3 separate regions of the Homo sapiens genome follow, and regions 1 and 3 are each linked to region 2. Evidence: promoter capture Hi-C in human tissues and cell types (Jung and others, 2019). All regions are on one chromosome and are shown on one strand. The core of a region is centred on a gene start or on the middle of the fragment in contact, and the rest is flanking DNA. Distances in the headings are between cores, read along the strand shown. Region 1 holds the start of RAD54B (RAD54 homolog B). Region 2 holds the start of FSBP (fibrinogen silencer binding protein). Region 3 overlaps VIRMA (vir like m6A methyltransferase associated).

Region 1 (3,294 bases), core at 358-2,857, 38 kb before region 2:
ACAAAACAAAAAAGACTAGTACTATTCTAAACACATGGGTACAGCAGAGAATAAAGCAAAGATCCTGCCCTCATGTAGCTTATATTCTGAGAGTAATAGAAAAACAATTAACAAATAAGTATATGTTAGGGAATGGAAAGTGTGATGAACTCTATAAAGCAGGGTAAGGGAGATACAAGATGAGACAAGAGAGCAATGCACTGTCAGATAAAGCCCTTTGACAAGTTGATATGTGAGTAATGATCTGAAGTGAAGGATCAAACCAGATGCAAATCTGCAAGAGGAATGTCCCAGGTCACCTTTAGCCAATCTGTTTTAGATTTTCTGAACTCCCCAGATGATATTAAGGTAGGCTGCAGACACTATGAAGCTAGCTTGTTTTCTGGTTACCCTTACTCTTTATGTGTCCCAGTCCAAAGAAGAGGGGGGTGCGGTTTACTAAGGTGCCCAACCTTGGCAGGTCCCCATTTCAAATTCTTGTAACGCTGGCTCCAGGAGCTGCCAAAAGCACAACTCAACCTATGAGGTGCTCTTTATGACTGGAAAAAGTCCCCAGGATAAAAGCTCCTTAAGCACATTACTCTTTTTTTTTGAAACAGGGTCTCTCTGCTGCCCAGGCTGGAGTGCTGCGGCACCATCTCGGTTCATTGCAGCCTTCACCTCCCAGGTTCAAGCGATTCTCCCGCCTTAGTCTGCTGAGTAGCTGGGATTACAGGCGCGCTCCACCAAAACCAGCTAATTTTTGTATTTTTAGTACAGACCGGGTTTCACCATGTTGGCCAGGCTGGTCTCGAACTCCTGACCTCAAGTGATCCGCCCGCCTCGGCCTCCCAAAGTACTGGGATTACAGGCACAAGCCACCGCTCTCAGCCTCAAATTACTCTTTTAAATGGCTGTACCTATTTACACTCCTACCAGCAGCCCAAGAGTTCCCATTGTTTCACATCTTCATTTCACCCTTGATATTTTTTAGCTTTTACTTTTTGTCAAACTGCTGGATAAAACTCAATAAACAACCTTTAGCCATTCTCTCTCCTTTCAGATTAGCCTTTCTAATACCATTTTTCAGGGATAGTTGACTGTGTTACCGCCTAGCACTTAGAAGGTGCTCAGTAAATACTCATTGAATGATGTAACTTTCCTACTTAACATGCTTTAATGCTTTTCCAAGTCCGGAGGCGGCTCCCCTTTTCTGAGAGCCTAATAATCACGTATTCGTTTCTATATTCCCAGAACCTAACAAAGAGTTTGAAAATTATCCTGCAGGCACCGCTAAGTCAATGTTTTTTCGGATGAATGAATAACCAATAGGATATCGTATACTTCTGCGATGCACGCATTTCTATTATCGCACACACCGAATCATACCGTATTTATTACTTATCCACGCAGATGGTGAGGTCTGTAGCCTCGGCATCTACACTGTGTCTGAAAGTAGGCACTAAACCAGTATTTTTTTAATTGAACCGTAAACTTGAATCAAACTTGGAAGCATTTAAAGCCAAACGCAAAGATACATGCGCAGTGATGCAGTAGGGTCGTCCAATCAGAGTAGGGCAGGACAGGGCAGTGCAGCGGCTAGGTAGTGCGCACGCGCGGCGGGCTCGTCCGCGATTGGCTTCGCCGAGGCGGGATCCTTGAGCTTCTCCGGCGGCGAGGGGATAGCTGGTTACCAGAAGGACTTCTTTGCAGGGCCAGTGGTTTCTGTCAGATTTTCGCCGGTGCGTCCTGCAGGGGGAAGCTCGGGAGGCTGCGACAGCCTGTAGGCTCGTGCGGGACAAAGCAGGGAGTGGCGCCGGAGCAGGCCAACGAGGGAGGAGGGAGGGAAGGCGGCAGGAGCGACCGAAGTGGCCTTCTGCGGGCCTGCAGCTTTGGTCTGAAGTGCCAGGGACGCCCTGGTTGCTGGCCCCGGGGGCCTTGGAGCGAAGGGCGGGCGGTGGGGGTTTAGGGTTGTGCGTTTGTGTGGGAGGGATGGTTCTGGGCAGTGGCCCCTGGGGCCGCCACTGCGGTCGCTTTGCGCAGGCTCCTCTTGGCTTTTGGGTCTCTCCCTCACTCCTGCACTGGGAATTTCCTTCCCCAGGGCCAGGGGGTGAAGGCTCTGCGAGCGTCCTGGAGAGTGTCGGTACGCCTTCTTTAGGGGCTTTTACCTCTTCACTGGTCAGGTTTTTCTTGTATTTCCTTAAAACCTTTTAATCGATTACCTTATGGAAGATTTTCTAGGTAGGAACAGATGCTTCTCGACTTACTACGGGGTTGAAAATATCCCAAATGGAAAATGGATTTAAAACACAGCTAACCTACTGAGTATTAAAGCTTGGCCTAGCCTACTTTTGTTATCAAAAAAATTATTTTCAGCTGTTTATTTTAGATTTGGGGGTACATGTGCAGGTTTGTTGCATCGGTATATTACGTGGTGCTGAGGTTTGGATACGATTGATCCTGTCACCCAGGTAGTGAGCATGTTACCCAATAGTTTTTGAACCCTTGCTCCTCCTTTCCTCTCCCTTCTAGTTGTCTCCACTGTCTATTGTTGCCATCTTTATGTTCATGAATGCCCAATGTTTAGCTCCCATTTATAAGTGAGAACATGCAATATTTGATTTTCTGTTTCTGCTTTAATTCGCTTTGGATAATAGCCTCCAGCTGCACCCATGTTGCTGCAAAGGACATGATTTCATTCCTTTTTATGGCTGCGCTAGCCTACCTTAAACATGCTCAGAACACTTACCTTAATCTACAGTTGGGCAAAATCATGAACACAGACGGTTGTGTGGTTACTTGTACAGTTTCTACTGAATGCTCATGGCTTTCTTAAAAGTCGAAGAATTCTAAGTGACACCGTCCTAAATTAGGAACCATCTATATAGCCGGAGTCTCAAAGGAGCAATTTAAGGCATGAAGTGAAATAATTACTACCTAATGTAGTTGGAAGTCGACAAGCAGCAACAGCAGGGAGAGACCGTTGCTGGTTCTTGGTAGAGTTGGTGTACTTACATTCTTGCATCCTCGACGTTTGATGGTTGCACATACCTCTCTTTAAAGCCCAGACGAACCCAAAGATTCTGGTCATTGTCCTGTATGTTGAACTACCCCTTCTCTATCTCCTTCACAGGACCTTCATCATTTCTACTCTCCGATAATACTAATTATAACAGATAACATTGAGTGCTTACTATGTGTCAAGTTTTGTTCTAAGTGCTTTACATATTTCATTTAATCCTCCCAACAGTCCGGTGTGTAAGCATGATTATGGTACCCCCTCTTAAAGATGAGGAAACTGAGACACATGGAGCC
Region 2 (2,965 bases), core at 425-2,924:
TACCTGTATTTCTTCTGAAAATAACAAAATAATTATCTAAATAAAGTATATACCCTATGTTCTTTCTTTGGTTCTCTTTTAATGTTCCAAAAGCTCAGAAAATGCTAGAATGATTTTGAGTACCTGTGGTCCAGTTGTTGTTGGGGCAGGTCGATTTTCTTTTTGCATCTCTATGGACAAGAATCATTTGCATTACTGATTTCTACAATTTACAGAGCTGTGAAACTGCTCAAAGACAATGAAAGGGTAGAACTATTATGGAATCAAATTACTCAGTAGCGTATACCAGACAACATCTAGCATTCCGTAGAACATCCAGCAATCTTTCACTGTTTTCTGAAAGATAATACACTTAAAGCTTTTAACACATTGGCTCACAGTGAGAGCTCAGTAAATGTAATTTGCTTCTCCATTGTTAAAAGAATGAAAAACAAGATAATTGAGAATTTATAGCATTTCTGTGGAACTACAGTTCCCTGGATAGGTGCTGTATCTAGATTCATTTTTGATTTCATTGGGTCTTGCACAGTGCCTGGGAGCATTTATATACGTGGTCAGTAATTAAAAACAATTTATTTTTCCTACCTCTTAATAACTATCACAGTTGTTCAGTAATAGTTTTATTGGATAGAACTATGTTCAAGTATGTTCTAATTTATTCCCCTATCTGGAAAAATATGTATATTGTGAGAAAATAGGTTTGTCTTGCTTACATTATTATGTATCATATATTTTCATACTGGGGTTAACAAATATATTCTAAGCACCGAAACTGGTGGCCTTGAAAATGGCTAGACTAGCTGTTTCCTTTCATAGTCCAAACTGTGTGAATATAGCTAAATAAAAAATCTGGCTCTATTATAATAGCAAATGTGATTTTGTATGTGGAGTCTTAAGGCGTGATTATACTGTTTCTCACCATGAACAGTGATTTTTTACACATGATAAGGCAGGCTAGCAAATTCACATACATTACGGCTAGAATAATCCATTGCTTTAAAAACATGATTTTTACCTGCTTTTTAGATTGAGTGTTCTATAAAAATTTTTTCTTAAGTGAAAAAAATATGCAGAGGCTAATGTAGACTGTAAAATGAAGGAGAAGCTTAGCTTTACTGTGGAGTCTGGGTCTGGGTGTAACCTAACTAGCTAGAGGATATGCAATTCCTGATTGACAGCAGATCCAGCATTATGCAGATTTTGTAAGGGAGAACACTCAGCTCAGAAACAGTGATGAGAGGCTCTGTTAGGAATTACTACATTCACTACTCATATCTTTTAGTTTTCTGTCTACTGGATTTGTAAATAAATAGCACAAAACAGTTCCTCTTTTGTTTTTATTAAAGTGATACTGCAATGCAGTTCAGTCTGTCAGCTAGGCATACATGTGTGAAATTTGATATTCTCACTAAATTAGCTAATTTTTAGCTGTGTTCCATGCTTATCTCTAGACCTTTGTGTATTAAATCCTGTCTCGAGCTGTTCCCTTTATACACAAGTGTGTTTTGCTTGTGCCTTCCTGTCTTCTTCAGTGAGAAGCTTTATGTAGGTCAGGCTTGGCTTAAGCAGATTTCCTGAACCTGCGTCAGCTTAAGCTGGAGGAATTTTAATAAACCCTCCCCTGTAGGCGTGGGCCTAAATGAGGCTAGCCTAGTTAAGCCTGATCTTTTTCTGTTTGTGAAAAGAGCTGAGCAGAGCTGAAGGCTGCATGGTGGTTTCAGAAACTGCCTACTTAATTTGAAAAGAACAATGGTAGGAAAGGCTAGATCTTCCAATTTTACCTTATCCGAAAAGCTTGATTTGCTAAAGCTTGTGAAGCCATATGTGAAAATTCTCGAAGAACACACTAATAAACATTCAGTAATAGTAGAAAAGAATAGATGTTGGGATATCATAGCAGTTAACTATAATGCAATTGGAGTAGACCGCCCTCCTCGAACAGCACAGGGCCTACGCACCCTTTATAAAAGGCTCAAAGAATATGCCAAACAGGAGCTATTGCAGCAAAAAGAGACCCAATCAGATTTTAAAAGCAATATTTCTGAGCCAACCAAGAAAGTTATGGAGATGATTCCCCAGATTTCCAGTTTTTGCCTGGTAAGAGACAGGAACCACATACAAAGGTAAGCTTTATTTTGTTTTGTTATGGAAAATTATGGCGCCTCCTATCTATTGGGCTTTGGCTTAGTCGTGATAGAGATATGCATAGTAAGCATCCCCACAACGGGAGCAATGAATAGTGTCTTTGTTTTGCATTTTTTAAAAAGAGAAAAGTGAGGCTATGAGGAATTTTTCTGTTGCATTTAAGCTACTTTTTACTGTCTTCCCCTCCCCCTTCCCTCCTGTAGTTTCTAAAAGTAAAGGTTAGGGAGGAATAAGTGGGTTGAAATTTGTGACATCACTTCATAAACTTCTTAAGCTTTAAAATTAAATTATTTAGTTTGCTTCTGAGAGATACTTTTTTTCTCATTTAAGATTACATTTCACTGGAATTTTCAATTTTATATAAAATTTATATAAAGTTAGCAGTTTCTAGAGAAATGGAACCTTGCTTTTTTATGAATTGTCATTGTCTACACTTATTGAATATATGTTAACTAACAAATATAAACAAAATCAATAAGTAAACTTGTTAATGGCATGATTGTGTATATGAAGACAGTTTAAATTATTTTTCTAACACGTTTAAAATAAAGATGAACACAACTAAAGGGAGTTAATGCCTAATTAGGGATTCAGTTTACTTAATAAAATTAAAAGTTTTTTGTTGTTGTTGTTTTTATTCCTTAATAGTCTAGTTTCACTTTGATCTTGGGTCGTATAGGAAAGAGTAAGCTTTCTCTTACTGCTTTGCAAGGATATCAAATTATGAATTTTAAAATACCCCTAAGAGCAACTGGGTTTTTTTAGAGTTAGAAGCAATTTTTTGGTTAAACTTGTCTTCTATGTAACTATTTGCCTTGGA
Region 3 (3,337 bases), core at 120-2,619, 64 kb before region 2:
AGGCACAAGCCACCATGCCTGGCTAATTTTTGTATCTTTTGTAGAGCCGGGGTTTCAGCTGGTGCCCAGGCTGGTCTCGAACTCCTGGGCTCAAGTGATCCACCTGTCTCTGCCTTCCAAAATGCTGGGATTATAGGTGTGAGCCACCACACCTGGCCCATACTAATACTTTGACTTTGATCCAGTACCAGAAGTGAATTCTAGCCTTTTCCCTTTCTTGATTATTTTATTCTCTAACAGTGAGAAATTCAGCTCTCATTATCTATATTTGCTTATTTGTTTAGCCCTAGTTTACAAATGAAGTAGCAGTCTCAAACTCATTACTAAACCATACTCCTGTGGGAAACAAATTGAGCAATCGGAGTACAGTGTTGTATATGGTTCTTTTTGTCTTTAGCCTTAGTGTATCCAGTCAAAAAACTGTTTTTCAGTTATTTATGTCAGCTTATTTCTTCCCTGTCTCCTTCAGTTTGGTTATATGGTTCATTTGTAATATAGTTAGATTCATTGGTCATAGTCTGCATTCTTATTTTTTCCCTCATATCCTTATTGGTTGTTTTTTTTTTTTTTTTTTTTTTGAGATGGAATCTCGCACTGTCCCCTGGGCTGGAGTGCAATGGTGCGATCTCGGCTCACTGCAACCTGCGCCTCCTGGGTTCAAGTGATTCTCCTGCCTCAGCCTCCCGAGTAGCTGGGATTACAGGCGCCTGCCACCATGCCTGGCTAATTTTTTGTATATATTTTGTTTTTTTAGTGGAGACAGGGTTTCACTATGTTGGCCAGGCTGGTCTCGAACTCCTGACTTCGTGATCCACCTGCCTCGGCCTCCCAAAGTGCTGGGATTACAGTCATGAGCCACTGCGCCCAACCCCTTGTTGATTTTTTAAAAAATTATATCTAGTCAAATTTATGTTTTATGGTGTACAGTTCTATGTGTTTTGACAGATGCTTAGAGTCATGTAGTTCTTATCGGTGACTAATTTTCTAGCAATCTGGGTTGTTTTCAAATTTTGGTGGTTATGAATAAAGCTTTGCACACAGGTTTTTGTGTGAATCTCAGTTTTCATTTCTCTTGGGTAGACACTTAGGAGTGGGGTTACTGGGTTGTATGATAGGTGTGTGTGTTTAACCTTAAAAGAAACTACCGGAGACTCCGTCTCAAAAAAAAAAAAAAAAAAGAAACTACCGAACTGTTTTCCAAAGTAGAGATACCATTTTTCATTCCCACTAGCAGTGTATTAGAGCCCCAGTTGCTCCTCATCCTCCCCAGAACTTGGTATTGCAAGTTTTTAAATGTTAGGCATTCTAATAGGTCCCCAGCTTTTGATAGACCACGGAAGTATGACTCACTTAAAGATTGTGTGTAGTGGTTAGTAATGGGTGTAGTCCAATTTTGAACCCATGCTTTTTCCATTAACATTTTTATTTTTGAATTTAATCTATTTCTCTTTGTTGTTGCCCAGGCCTAGTGCAGTGGCACAATCTCGGCTCACTGCAACCTCCGTCTCCTGGGTTCAAGTGATTCTCCTGCCTCAGCCTCCCCAGTAGCTGGGATTACAGGCGTGCACCACTACGCCTGGCAAATTTTTTATATTTTTAGTAGAGACGGGATTTTACTGTGTTAGCCAGGATGGTCTTGATCTCCTGACCTCGTGATCTGCCCGCCTCGACCTCCCAAAGTGCTGGGGTTACAGGTGTGAGCCACCGCGCCTGGCCAAAAGGTTTATAAATAGGGAACTGGCAAGTTTTCTGTGTTAAGTTTTTTTTTTTTTTTTTTTTTTGAGATGAAGCCTCACTCTGTCCTTCAAGCTGGAGTGCAGTGGCGTGATTTCGGCTCGCTGCAACCTCTGCCTCCCAATCGTTTAAGTGATTCTTCTGCCTCACCTCCTCCCGAGTAGCTGGGATTGCAGGTGTGTGCTGCCACCCCCCGTTAATTTTTGTATTTTTTTTTAGTAGAGACCGGGTTACCCTATGTTGGCCAGGCTGCTCTTAAACTCCTGACCTCAAGTGATCCACCACCTTCGGCCTCCCAAAGCGCCCGGATTACAGGCGTGAGCCACCACACCCAGCCTCTTGTGTTAAATTTTATAAAATGATTATTTGGGGGAATTTTTTTTTAAGATCTTGAAGCTTAGCTTTAAAAGGAGTTGGTAACTATTGACGGTTCTTTGTTATATTTGTGTACAAAGACACACCAAAGTACTTCTTAGCATTTTTAAAAATGATGGAGTAAGTTTTATTCTGTCTGAAGTGAGTTCATTTATCATACCAGTTTTATATGCTCATATTTTAAGATAATATCTTCTCTTTATTTTCTTTATTTACAGTTCTTTAAGGAAAAACAGTAGTGCTCTGCATAGTTTACTGAAACGAGTGGTCAGCACATTTAGTAAGGACACAGGAGAGCTTGCATCTTCATTTTTAGAATTTATGAGACAAATTCTTAACTCTGACACAATTGTAAGTATGTGTGTGTTTGTGTTTGTGTATATATGTATGTATGTATTTGGTGTTTCTTAAATTTGAAATCTTTGGCCAAGTACGATGGCTCACATCTGTAATCTCAGCACTCTGGTGGGCTGAGGTGGGAGGATCTCTTGGGGCCAGGAGTTTGAGACCAGCCTGGGCAAAATAGTGAGACCCTGTCTTGAAAAAAAGAGAAATACTTTGCCGTAAGTTAAATCACTTTATATATTAAATATCCAACATAAAAAAGATCACTTTAGTTCATTTTATTTTATTTTATTTTATTTTAGATAGAGTCTCACTCTGTCATCCAGACTGGAGTGCAGTAGCACAATCTCGGCTCACTGCAACCTCCACATACTGGGTTCAAGTGATTCTCCTGCCTCAGTCTCCTGAGTAGCTGGGATTACAGGCACCTGCCGCCATGCCCAGCTAATTTTTTGTACCTTTTTAGTAGAGATGGGATTTCACCATGTTGGCCAGGCTGGTCTTGAACTCCTGATCTTAGGTGATCTGCCCACCTCGGCCTCCCAAAGTGCTGGGATTACAGGCATGAGCTACCGCACCTGGCCAAGTGCTTTCATTTTAAAATAATTCTTAGATGAGTGTGGTGGCACGTGCCTCTAATCCCATCACTTTGGGAGGCTGTGGTAGGATCGCTTGAGCCCAGGAGTTTGAGATCAACCTGTACAACACAGCAAAACTCTGTCTCTAGAAACAACAAAAATTAGCCACACGTGGTGTGCCCACCAGTAGTCCCATCTATTTGAGAGGCTAAGATTGGAGGATAGCTTGAGTCCAGGAGTTGGAGACTGAACTTAGCTATGATTGTGTCACTGCAGTCTAGTCTAGGTGACAGAGCAAGACGCTG

What was found. The method cuts DNA at HindIII sites, captures the fragments that hold promoters and counts their contacts. A contact is called where the count stands out against the background at its distance.
Region 1: the fragment with the promoter of RAD54B here is called in contact with the fragment with the promoter of FSBP in region 2 in 1 of the 25 tissues and cell types used here (mesenchymal stem cells).
Region 3: a contact is called between a fragment that was not itself captured here and the fragment with the promoter of FSBP in region 2, in 1 of the 25 tissues and cell types used here (mesenchymal stem cells).

What each region holds. Positions count from the first base shown.
Region 1 is chr8:94,473,428-94,476,721 of GRCh38, reverse strand. It overlaps RAD54B (RAD54 homolog B), which reads left to right and starts at 1,607. Exons shown (of 15, transcript NM_012415.3): 1 at 1,607-1,721. RefSeq lists an enhancer at 1,645-1,874. The HindIII fragment of the contact is 13,618 bases long and covers 1-3,294 here.
Region 2 is chr8:94,435,653-94,438,617 of GRCh38, reverse strand. FSBP (fibrinogen silencer binding protein) reads left to right here and starts at 1,674. Exons shown (of 2, transcript NM_001256141.2): 1 at 1,674-2,123. The coding sequence starts at 1,750. The region is part of intron 3 of RAD54B (RAD54 homolog B); the gene reads left to right. The HindIII fragment of the contact is 647 bases long and covers 1,323-1,969 here.
Region 3 is chr8:94,498,497-94,501,833 of GRCh38, reverse strand. VIRMA (vir like m6A methyltransferase associated) reads left to right here. Exons shown (of 24, transcript NM_015496.5): 17 at 2,328-2,460. Among named protein-coding and RNA genes, the nearest start is that of RAD54B, 25 kb to the right of the region's middle. The HindIII fragment of the contact is 4,891 bases long and covers 1-3,337 here.